Regions from separate parts of the Homo sapiens genome. Here all the other regions are linked to region 2. The links are contacts of gene promoters, found by promoter capture Hi-C in blood cells and fetal thymus (Javierre and others, 2016). All regions are on one chromosome and are shown on one strand. Each heading gives the region's core, a stretch centred on a gene start or on the middle of the fragment in contact. The rest is flanking DNA. Distances are from core to core; before and after follow the strand shown.

Region 1 (2,987 bases), core at 32-2,531, 750 kb before region 2:
TTCTAACCTCTGGGAGGCATACTTTTTTCACTTCAGCTCCTGAAAATGACTTTGTAAAGGAAACTGATTAATTTGGGTGGAGGGGTGATGGAGTCAGATGAAAAAGTCAGGAAAATAAGTTCAGGGAAGTAAGACCAAATGAAAGATTCCTGAGTTATTAGCCAGACTTTTACTGGGATGTGGAATTTGGTTTACTGTCTGTAATTAAGAGGTTGAGCTGCTTTTTTTCAGAAGTGTGGTACCCTGTCTAGTGGGCCTCTTTGAACTTAGATTTTGGGTCTGTAAAGCTTTTCATTTGTTGTTGTTTTTTTTAAATCACATTTTCTGAAGAATTCCATACATAGTCCCAATATTAGGAAGTAGGCCTAGCAGTTATTATTATTCTAATTTTTTTAATGAGCGTCAGATAAGTTACTTATCCAAAGCCACATGGTTGGTGAATAGAGGAGCCCTTGTTAGCATCTGGGTCTGATACTTAGCTCAGCGTCCTGCCCACCATTCCGCAACAGGAAAAAAAATTTTAAAACTTAACCAATAAATATCTATTGACAACCTATTAGCAGCTCAGCACAGTAGGAAGGCCTGTGGAAGTGTGCTATTTGCTGGTCCTTAATATGTTCAATGTTGACACATACCTGCTTTGTTCCTTCTTGGCACTATCAGTATAATATAGAAGTCATACACACTCTAGGCACACAGTCTGGAATTACTTCCTGGCTGCAGCATTCTACAGCCACACTTCATTTTATTGTGTTTCACAGATATTGTGCTGTTTACAATGGAAAGTGTGTGGTGACTCTGCATTGAGTACATCTATTGGTGCCATTTATCTGTTATGGTGATCTGCGATCAGTAATCTGTGGTGTTATTGTTGTAATTCTTTTGGGGTTCCATGAACTATATTTATATAAGTCAGCAAACATAATTGATAAATGTGTGTGTTCTGACTGCTCTACCGACTGGCAGTCCCCATCACTTCCCCTCTCTTCAGGCCTCCCTATTCCCTGAGACACAGCAGTGTTGAAATTAGGTCAGCTACACCCTACAATGGCCTCTAAGTGTAGGGTGAAAAGTAAAAGTGTTCAAGTGAAAAGAAAAGTTGCAAGTCTCTCACTTTATATGAAAAGCTAGAAATGGTAAGCTTAGTGAGGAAGGCATGTGGAAAGACAAGACAGGCACAAAGCTTGGCCTCCTACACCAAACCATTAGCCAAGTTGTGAATGCAAAGGAAAAGTTCTTGAGGAAAACTAAAAGTGTTGTTCCTGTGACCATACAAGTGATAGGAAAGCAGAACAGCTTTATTACTGATGCAGAGAAAGTTTGAGTGGTCTGAATAGAAAATCATACTAGCCACAATATTCCCTTAAACCAAAGCTTATTCCAGAGCAAAGCGCTAACTCTCTTTAATTCTGTGAAGGGTGAGAGAGGTGAGAAAGCTGCAGAAGAAAAGTTTGAAGCTAGCAGAGGTTGGCTCATGAGATTTAAGGAAAGATGTGGTCTCCAAAACATAAAAGTGTGAGGTGAAGCAGCAAGTGCTGATGCAGAAGCTGCAGCAAGCTAACCAGAAGATCTAGCTAAGATTGCTGATGAAGGTAGCTATACTTAACAATGGATTTTCTATGTAGGTGAAACAGCCTTCTATTGGAAAAAGATGCCATCTAGGACGTTCATAGCTAGAGAGAAATCAATGCCTGGCTTCAAACTTTAAAGGAAAATCTTCTGGAAAGGATTCATCATTTGTCATAACTATTAAGAACATTTGTGGGCTGGGTATGGTAGCTCACACCTGTAATCCCAGCACTTTGGGAGGCCAAGGTGGATGGATTGCTTGAGCACAGAAGTTCGAGACCAGCCTGGGCAAAATGGTGAAACCCCATCTCTACAAAAAATACAAACATTTGCTGGTCATGGTGGCATGCACCTGTAGTCCCAGCTACTCAGAGGCTGAGGTGGTAGGATCATTTGAGCCCAGGAGGTGGAGGTTGCAGTGAGCTGGGATTGTGCCACTGCACTCTAGCCTGAGCAATAGAGCAAGACTCTGTCTCAAAAAAAAAAAAAAGTTAAAGTGTTAAAAAAAATTTGTAACTCATGGGAAGAGGCTAAAATAGCAACATGTTATTCACAGGAGTTTGGAAAAAGTTGATTCCAACCATCATATATCACTTTGAGGGGTGCAAGACTTCAGTAGAGGAAGCAAGTGCAGGTGTGGTGGAACTAGCAAGAGAACTAGAAGTGCAGCTTAAAAATGTGACTGAATTGCTGCAACTCATGATCAGACTTGAACAGATAAGGAGGTACCTCTTATAAATGCTCAAAGAAAGTGGTTTCTTGAGATGGAATCTATTCCTGGTGAAGATGCTATGAACATTGTTTAAATGACAACAAAGGAATTACAATACTACATAAACTTAGTTGAGAAAGTATTGGCAAGGCCTGAGAGGACTGACTCCAATTTTGAAAGCAGTTCTACTGTGAGTAAAATGCTGTCAAACAGCATAGCATACTACAGAAAAATGTTTTGTGAAAGGAAGAGTCCACTGATGCAGCAAGCTTCACGGTTGTCTCTTTCTTTCTCTCTTTCTTTCCTTTCTTTCTTTCTTTTCTTCTTTCTTTCTTTCTTTCAGAGAGAGATTTTAACACACCTCTCATAGTAACTGACAGAAAAAAGCAGACAAAAAGATCAGTAAGAATATAAAATATTTAACCACATAATTAACAAACTTGCTGTACCCACAAATGTATGATAATAAACTCATACCTTTCAAATCAGAACACTTCAGTAAGTTTACCATGAATAAAGCAAATCATAAGTTGTCTTAGTTTTTTAAAATTACCACAGCCACCCCAACCTTCAGCAACCACTACCCTGATCAGTCAGCAGCCATTAACATCGAGGCAGGACTCTCCACCAGCAAAAAGATTATGACCCACTGAAGGCTCAGGTGATCATTAGAATTTTTACCAGTAAGGTGTTTTTTGGCCGGGCA
Region 2 (3,209 bases), core at 540-3,039:
TTTTGCCTTATTTTTTTTGTCTTTTTAAGGGACGGGGAAATAATAATTAAAAATAAAAGAACAATCAGAAGTTAGAGAGGGAACAAGAGGGCCGGGAAAGGGCCAAGGACCGAAGGGGAGGGGGAGCCCCGCGCTCTGCCCCTCCCCCAGCTCGAGTTCACTGGACGGGCGTCTGCACCCCGTGGTGTGGTGGAGTGTCCCTACTCCCCCCGTACACATCCTCGGCGCCCGGCAGAGTCCCTCCGGGAGGGGTCATCCTTTTCTCTTTCTGTCTCCTGTTACAAAACCAAACTCTCACCACCTCCTTCTCCAGCTGTAAGCTGTCCGCGAGGGAGGTGATCTCCTGGGCCGAGGGCTTGGGGCATTTGAGGAAATGGCTCTCCAGAGCCCCCTTGACGCTCACCTCGATGGAGGTCCGCTTTTTCCGCTTGCGCCCTTGCGCTGCGATCTTGTCTATGCTCGTGGGGCTGCCCGAGGACGAGTCCGCCTCCTCCAACCACTTGTTCAACAAAGGCTTCAGCTTGCACATGTTCTTGAAGCTCAGCTGCAGGGCCTCAAACCTGCAGATGGTGGTCTGCGAGAACACGTTGCCATACAGGGTGCCCAGAGCCAGCCCCACGTCCGCTTGGGTAAATCCCAGTTTGATCCGCCGCTGCTTGAACTGCTTGGCGAACTGCTCCAGGTCGTCCGAGGTCGGCGTGTCCTCGTCCGAGTGCGGGTCGTGGTGCGCGCCTGGGTGGCCAGGCGGACCCTGCGGGGGCGGCGGGGGCGGCGGCTGCTGGTGTGGGTGCGAGTGCGGGTGCGGGTGGTGGTCGGCATGGTGTGGCTCGTCGTGCGCGTCCCGCAGGCCGTGGTGGTGCAGACCGGCCGGCTGCCCGCCGGCGCCCAGCATGCCGTTCACCGTGAAGCTGGGCTGCGAGTAGAGCAAGCCGCCGTTGGACGCTCCCATGGAGGGTGGGAGGTGCGCTGCAGCCGCCGCGCTCCGCCATGCCCCGGGTCCCGGGTGGTGGTTAGCGGCGTGGTGCACCAGATGCGGCGGCCGCTGTTGCTGCTGCTGCTGCTGCTGTTGCTGCTGTTGCTGCTGCTGTTGCTGTTGCTGCTGCTGATGCTGCTGCTGCAGGGCGCCTGGCCCGTGCAGCTCGTCTCCGCGGCCGCCCTGCTGCACCACCACCGAGGGCTTGATGTCCGGCTGGCCCAGGGGGCTGGTGGACCACGGGGAGCCGTCGCCGCCGCCCCCGCCGCCGCCCCCGCCCCCCCCGCCGCCGCCACCGCCCCCGCCGCCGCCGCCGTGGGACAGCGCGGTGATCCACTGGTGAGCGTGGCTGAGCGGGTGTCCGTTGCTCTGCAGAGCGCCGTAGTCGCCCTGCACCAGGCTCTGCGCTTCGCGGTAGCCCCCCGCGCCCTGCTGCATGCCGCCGGGCGGCTCGGCGTGCACGATGGAGGCGCTGGAGGTGAGCAGGCTGTAGTGGTTAGACGCTGCGGTCGCCATGACTCTCGGAGCCGGACTGAGCGCTCCGGTTAAAGGAGCCGCGCATTTGACAGTTACTTTTTCGCCTCGGGCTCCCTCTCCTCGCTCGCTCTTTCTGTCTCCTCTCTCTCCCACAGCGGGCAGCTCCGACGCCCGCTCCGACGCCTTCTGTTGCTGCTCCTGCTATTACTGCTGCTGCTGCCGCCGCCGCCGCCTCCCGCCCGCCCTCGCTCTCTTTCTCCTCCTCTCCCTCCTTCTCGCTCTCGCTCACTCTCTGACTAGCTCGGCGCTCCCCCCTCTCCCTGCTCTCTCCAGCTCTCTCCCGCTCTCTTGGCAGCGCCGGCTCGCAGCGGCACGCGCCTGGGCCCCGCCCCCTCCGCCCCCTCCCATTGGCTCCGCGCCCTTTGATTTACGTGGATACCGCTAGCAACCTCCCAGGCCGGCGCCACTGATTGGCGCAGAGCTACTCCCTCCCCCTCCCCCGGGCTCGGAGTCCTCCTAGCCCTCCTCCCCGTCCCCTTCGCCTCCCGATTCAGATTCTCTCAGTTCTCACCCCCCCGCTTCTTCCTCACCCGGGGCCTCCTCCGCCCTCTCTCGGATGGGCCCCGCCCCCCATCTGTCTCCCAGGCAGAGAAGACCGGCAGGGGGGCGGTCCCGGTGCTCTTATCGGCCACAGACACTTGGAAGACTTGGATTGGGGTGGGGGGCGGGAGGCAGTGGTGTCCACTTTCGTTTCCCAATAGGGCTTTAAGATGGGGAAACGGAGGGGGTAAGGGAAAAGCTGGGTCGCACCGAGCCAGCGGGAGTCGGATTTTTATTCACCTAGGGACACACACACAGTGTGTATCTCTTAAACCTAGAGCCAAGAGCCAGACCTGTTCCCCTGTTCAACTCTCCTTGCATCCCACGGTTAGAATTTCAGTGCACAAGTGTCTCTTGCTCCAGGGTGTGCGGACACTTCGGCCCAAAGCTCTTCTCCTTCCCCTCTACCCCGCGGCTAGCACAGGCTCTCTTCCTTTTAGGTTCCAGGCCCAATTGTCTCCCACTCCCTTGGGGAAAGAACCCCGAGAGAGGCAGGCTCAGCCCGCACCGCGGCTTGTAAGTCATTCCCATCAAGGCTCGGAGTTGCTTGCTCTGACAGCGTAGCGGTCTGAACTGAAAACCAAACAAAACTCTAAAAGTCTCTCCGTCAGATTCACACGCCGGCGCGTGCAGTTTTTGGTTTAGAAAACTAGAAGCCTGCGTGGGCTCCGTCTTGTGCGAGGCTGCCGGAGTGCTGGCGAGGGGTGTGCGGCCTTGTAGGGGCGGCGCAGTCGCCAAAGGCCGCTCCGGGAAGCCGCGCGGAGGGCCTGCGTGCGCGATTCCCCGTGCTCCTACCGCTGGTAGGTGCAACTTTTCCGTTAGCCCCTTGGGAAGGAGGAAGAGTGTGTGAAGCAAATGGGCTGATGCCAGGGGAACCTTCCTAATCAGTAACTTCGGTGGGCGCTAGCGGGTGGGGTTAGTCTATGTCTTTGGCGCTCCCTGGCCAAGCTCCCAGCTCAGCTTTCAGCAGTGAACTCCAGAGCAAGACTATGGGACCATGCACCCGCAGCGCCGCTCTACGGAGCGCGGGCGCGTCGCGCCATCAGTTCTTTAGCCGCCCAGAGCAGGTGCCGCCTGCGAGTTTCCGAGCCTGCAAGCCCGGTAGCTAGAACTTGGGCGCGGACCCAGGCTGGAGCGGCGTGACCGCCACGCAGGGCCG
Region 3 (3,185 bases), core at 184-2,683, 790 kb before region 2:
TGACCTAGATGACTCTTACCCATCTTGTTTAAGACTCAGCTCAGGTGTTGCATCCTCCAGGAGGCCTTTTCCTATATAACTCCTTCCCTGCCCTCACCCTTCTCTCTCTAAGAAGGTACCCTTCCTCTGTGTTCATCTCCATCACTATACCCACCACATTGTGTTATCAATTTCTGTTCTTATGTTTGCCTTCTCCACTAGACCATGAGCTTGAGACAATCTTTCTGTTTTGTTTTGTGTTTTGTTTTGTTTTTAGACAGGGTCTCACTCTGCCACCCAGGCTAGAGTGAGACCTCTGCCTCCTGGGCTGAAGCAATCCTCCCACCTCAGCCTCCTGAGTAGCTGGCACCACAGGCACACACAACCATGCCCGACTTTTTCTATTTTTGATAAAGATGGGTTCTTGCCATGTTGCCCAGGCTGGTCTCACACTCCTGAGCTCAATGGATCAGCCCATCTTGGCCTCCCAAAGTGCTGGGATTACAGACGTGAGCCACTGCACCTGGCTTGAGACCATCTTAATCATCCATATGTCCCCAGCCAGTGCTGTGCCTGGCATGTAGTGGGCTCTCAGTGCTTCATCAATGTTCAGAGTAAGAAATAAAGAATGTTTAATCAACTAATTCTCAACTATTTGTTGAGTATCTACTATGTCTAATGTATGTATTAAAGTTTTGGGCTGGGACAGTCAGGGAAGGCTATAGAGAAAAGAGAAGATTTTAAATGGGGTCGAAAGATGTACAAGGCTCAGAAAGCAAAGCCACATATCAATAATCTAAATCTAATGTTTGAGCAAATGCTTAGGCTGGGGACCATGGTTAGCTATAAATGGCAAAGCTGAGAAGTTGATTGTCTTCCTCTTGCTCTTGAATTCTATCAGATCAGCTGTTTCCTTATCCAAGAGCAAAGTGTCAGATTCAAGCTGTGTTCCAGGGCATTTAACCTTTCAATGATGAGCATCTCACCTTAACTCTAAGATCATCTCCTAGGACAGAAAATTGTGGAAATGCTTCTAAATAAATTAAAAACCTAGAGACGGTTAGATCATGAGATACATTAATAATAATGAAATGTCAGAAACATGTGCAGCTACATGTAATGAACTCAACAACTGTCCGAAGGTCATAGAGGTCTTCCTGCAAAATACATGTCATTCTGTTTACATCAAACACAGAAAACTCATTTACAAGTGAATGTCATTTTCATCTTTGTTCCATGGCCAAGTACATCTCATTTGCATTTGTTTTTTTCCCTACTGGAGTGCTTGTCACTATTCTACAGCTGGTGTGGGTTGTGCTCAGTACCTGCTACTTACCATAGGCTCAGGCTCTAGTCATCCAGTTACAAGTCTGAATCATAATCCCAAAGACGGTTTTACATAAGGTATTTTTAAATAATATGCATCATTGGGAAATCAAAATTTGGTGATAGTGTTCACAGGAAAAAACTAAAAGTTCAAATGCATGTGCATGCAAACATACTCTTTTCCCATGTGAGCCCAACATTAGGATTTCTATATTGCTAGGCCTGGAGAGGTACAGTTCTATAGCTAAGGCCTCCCAAGGATCCTTTGCCAAATTCCCAAGAGAACAAAAGAATGGGGTGGAGGCCCCATTGTTGTCTCCCTATGTACAGAGTATGATCAAGAGCTAAAGGTAACTCTGAGTTTTCCAACTATGGAGAGAAGGACCAGTTGAACAGTCAGCCAATCATCCCTCTCCCAGACGCTGGTCTGATTCTGACACTGTCCTGGCCAGCTCAGCATCCTCAATAGCTCTTTCCTCACTGCAATCAAAGCAGTAGCACCTTATGAAACACACCTGCAGCCCACCTACAAAATCACTTAACACAAGTTATTCATTGAAGTGTCTTTAAGGTAATAAAAGATTGAAAACAACCCAAAGGTCATCAACAGGAGAATTGGTTAAATCTGTCTTTCTACATCTACACAATAGAGTACTATGTAGCAATAAAAGAAAAAAAAAGTGAGGAGGCTCTCTTTGAATTATCATGGAAAATTTCTCCACAGTATATTAATTTGAATAAAAAGCAGGATACAGAAGAGTGAATATTAAATATTTAAGACAGGGAAGAAAATAAAAATACATTCATTCTTGGATATTTGTATTTACAAAAAGAAAACTAGATGTATACAAGAAACTAAAATAAGTGATTACAAGTATAGATCAAGATTTTTTGGTTTTGAAATTCATAGAATTTGGGGGATCTACTTTAAGAAATAAAACACAGAATTAGGTACTGGTCTGTATTTGTCCATTTTCATGCTGCTGATACCTGAGACTGGGAAGAAAAAGAGGTTTAATTGGACTTACAGTTCCACATGGCTGAGGAAGCCTCAGAATCATGGTGGGAGGCAAAAGGCACTTCTTACATGGCAGCAGCAAGAGAAAAAATGAGGAAGAAGCAAAAGCGGAAACCCCTGATAAACCATCAGCTCTCTTGAAACTTATTCAGTATCATGAGAATAGCATGGGAAAGACCGGCCCCCATGATTCAATTACCTCCCCCTGGGTCCCTCCTACAACACTTGGGAATTCTGGCAGACACAATTCAAGTTGAGATTTGGCTGGAACACAGCCAGACCATATCAAGGTCTTATATAAGGATTTCACGCCAGTGAGCTTCGTGGTACCTCTACCCGTGGTTGATTACCTATGAGCTGACAGAAGTGCACAGAAATGAGATTGGATTAAGACTCCTAGATAGATACCTATTTAGACAGTTTTGTTCTTTGAAAATTGAGTATATTTCTTATTTAGAATGCAAAACCTACCTTTTTTTTTTTTTTTTTTTTTTTTTTGGTAGATACAGGAGTCTCGTTATGTTGCCAAGGTTGGTCTTGATCTCCTGGCCTCAGAGTGATCTTTCTGCCTTGGCCTCCCAAAGTGCTGGAATTATGGGCATGAACCACCTCACCTGAGCATCTCAATCATCTTATTTAAGTTTGGCTCCATTCTGCAACCTTGTGTCTGCAGGGATTCTCCCTCAGCCCGACTTTTTCCTGATGACAATGTGCCTAGCATTCTGTTTTGAGTTTGCCCTTGTATTTCCCTCTTTCTGATCACCCTCAGCTCTGTCATCAATAGAGCAGCTTCAGACCACCCCAGCCCCACCTCTGCCCCCTGCCTGGCCCAGATTTCCAGGAATATAGCCTGCTACATGTG

Evidence for each region. Contacts are between HindIII fragments. The CHiCAGO score rates a contact against its expected background, and 5 or more counts as called.
Region 1: a fragment that was not itself captured here is called in contact with the fragment with the promoter of POU3F2 in region 2 in 2 of 17 cell types (total B cells and naive B cells); the score reaches 10.7 in total B cells.
Region 3: a contact is called between a fragment that was not itself captured here and the fragment with the promoter of POU3F2 in region 2, in 1 of 17 cell types (total B cells). The highest score is 8.9, in total B cells.

Annotation. Positions count from the first base shown.
Region 1 is chr6:99,584,547-99,587,533 of GRCh38, reverse strand. It overlaps the pseudogene TSTD3. Among named protein-coding and RNA genes, the nearest start is that of CCNC, 17 kb to the right of the region's middle. The HindIII fragment of the contact is 191 bases long and covers 1,186-1,376 here.
Region 2 is chr6:98,833,154-98,836,362 of GRCh38, reverse strand. POU3F2 (POU class 3 homeobox 2) reads right to left here and starts at 1,789. Exons shown (of 1, transcript NM_005604.4): 1 at 1-1,789. The coding sequence starts at 1,489. The coding sequence ends at 158. RefSeq lists enhancers at 1-475, 476-1,072, 1,071-1,140 and a silencer at 1,779-1,848. The HindIII fragment of the contact is 14,703 bases long and covers 1-3,209 here.
Region 3 is chr6:99,621,475-99,624,659 of GRCh38, reverse strand. No RefSeq gene overlaps it. Among named protein-coding and RNA genes, the nearest start is that of PRDM13, 16 kb to the right of the region's middle. The HindIII fragment of the contact is 5,828 bases long and covers 1-3,185 here.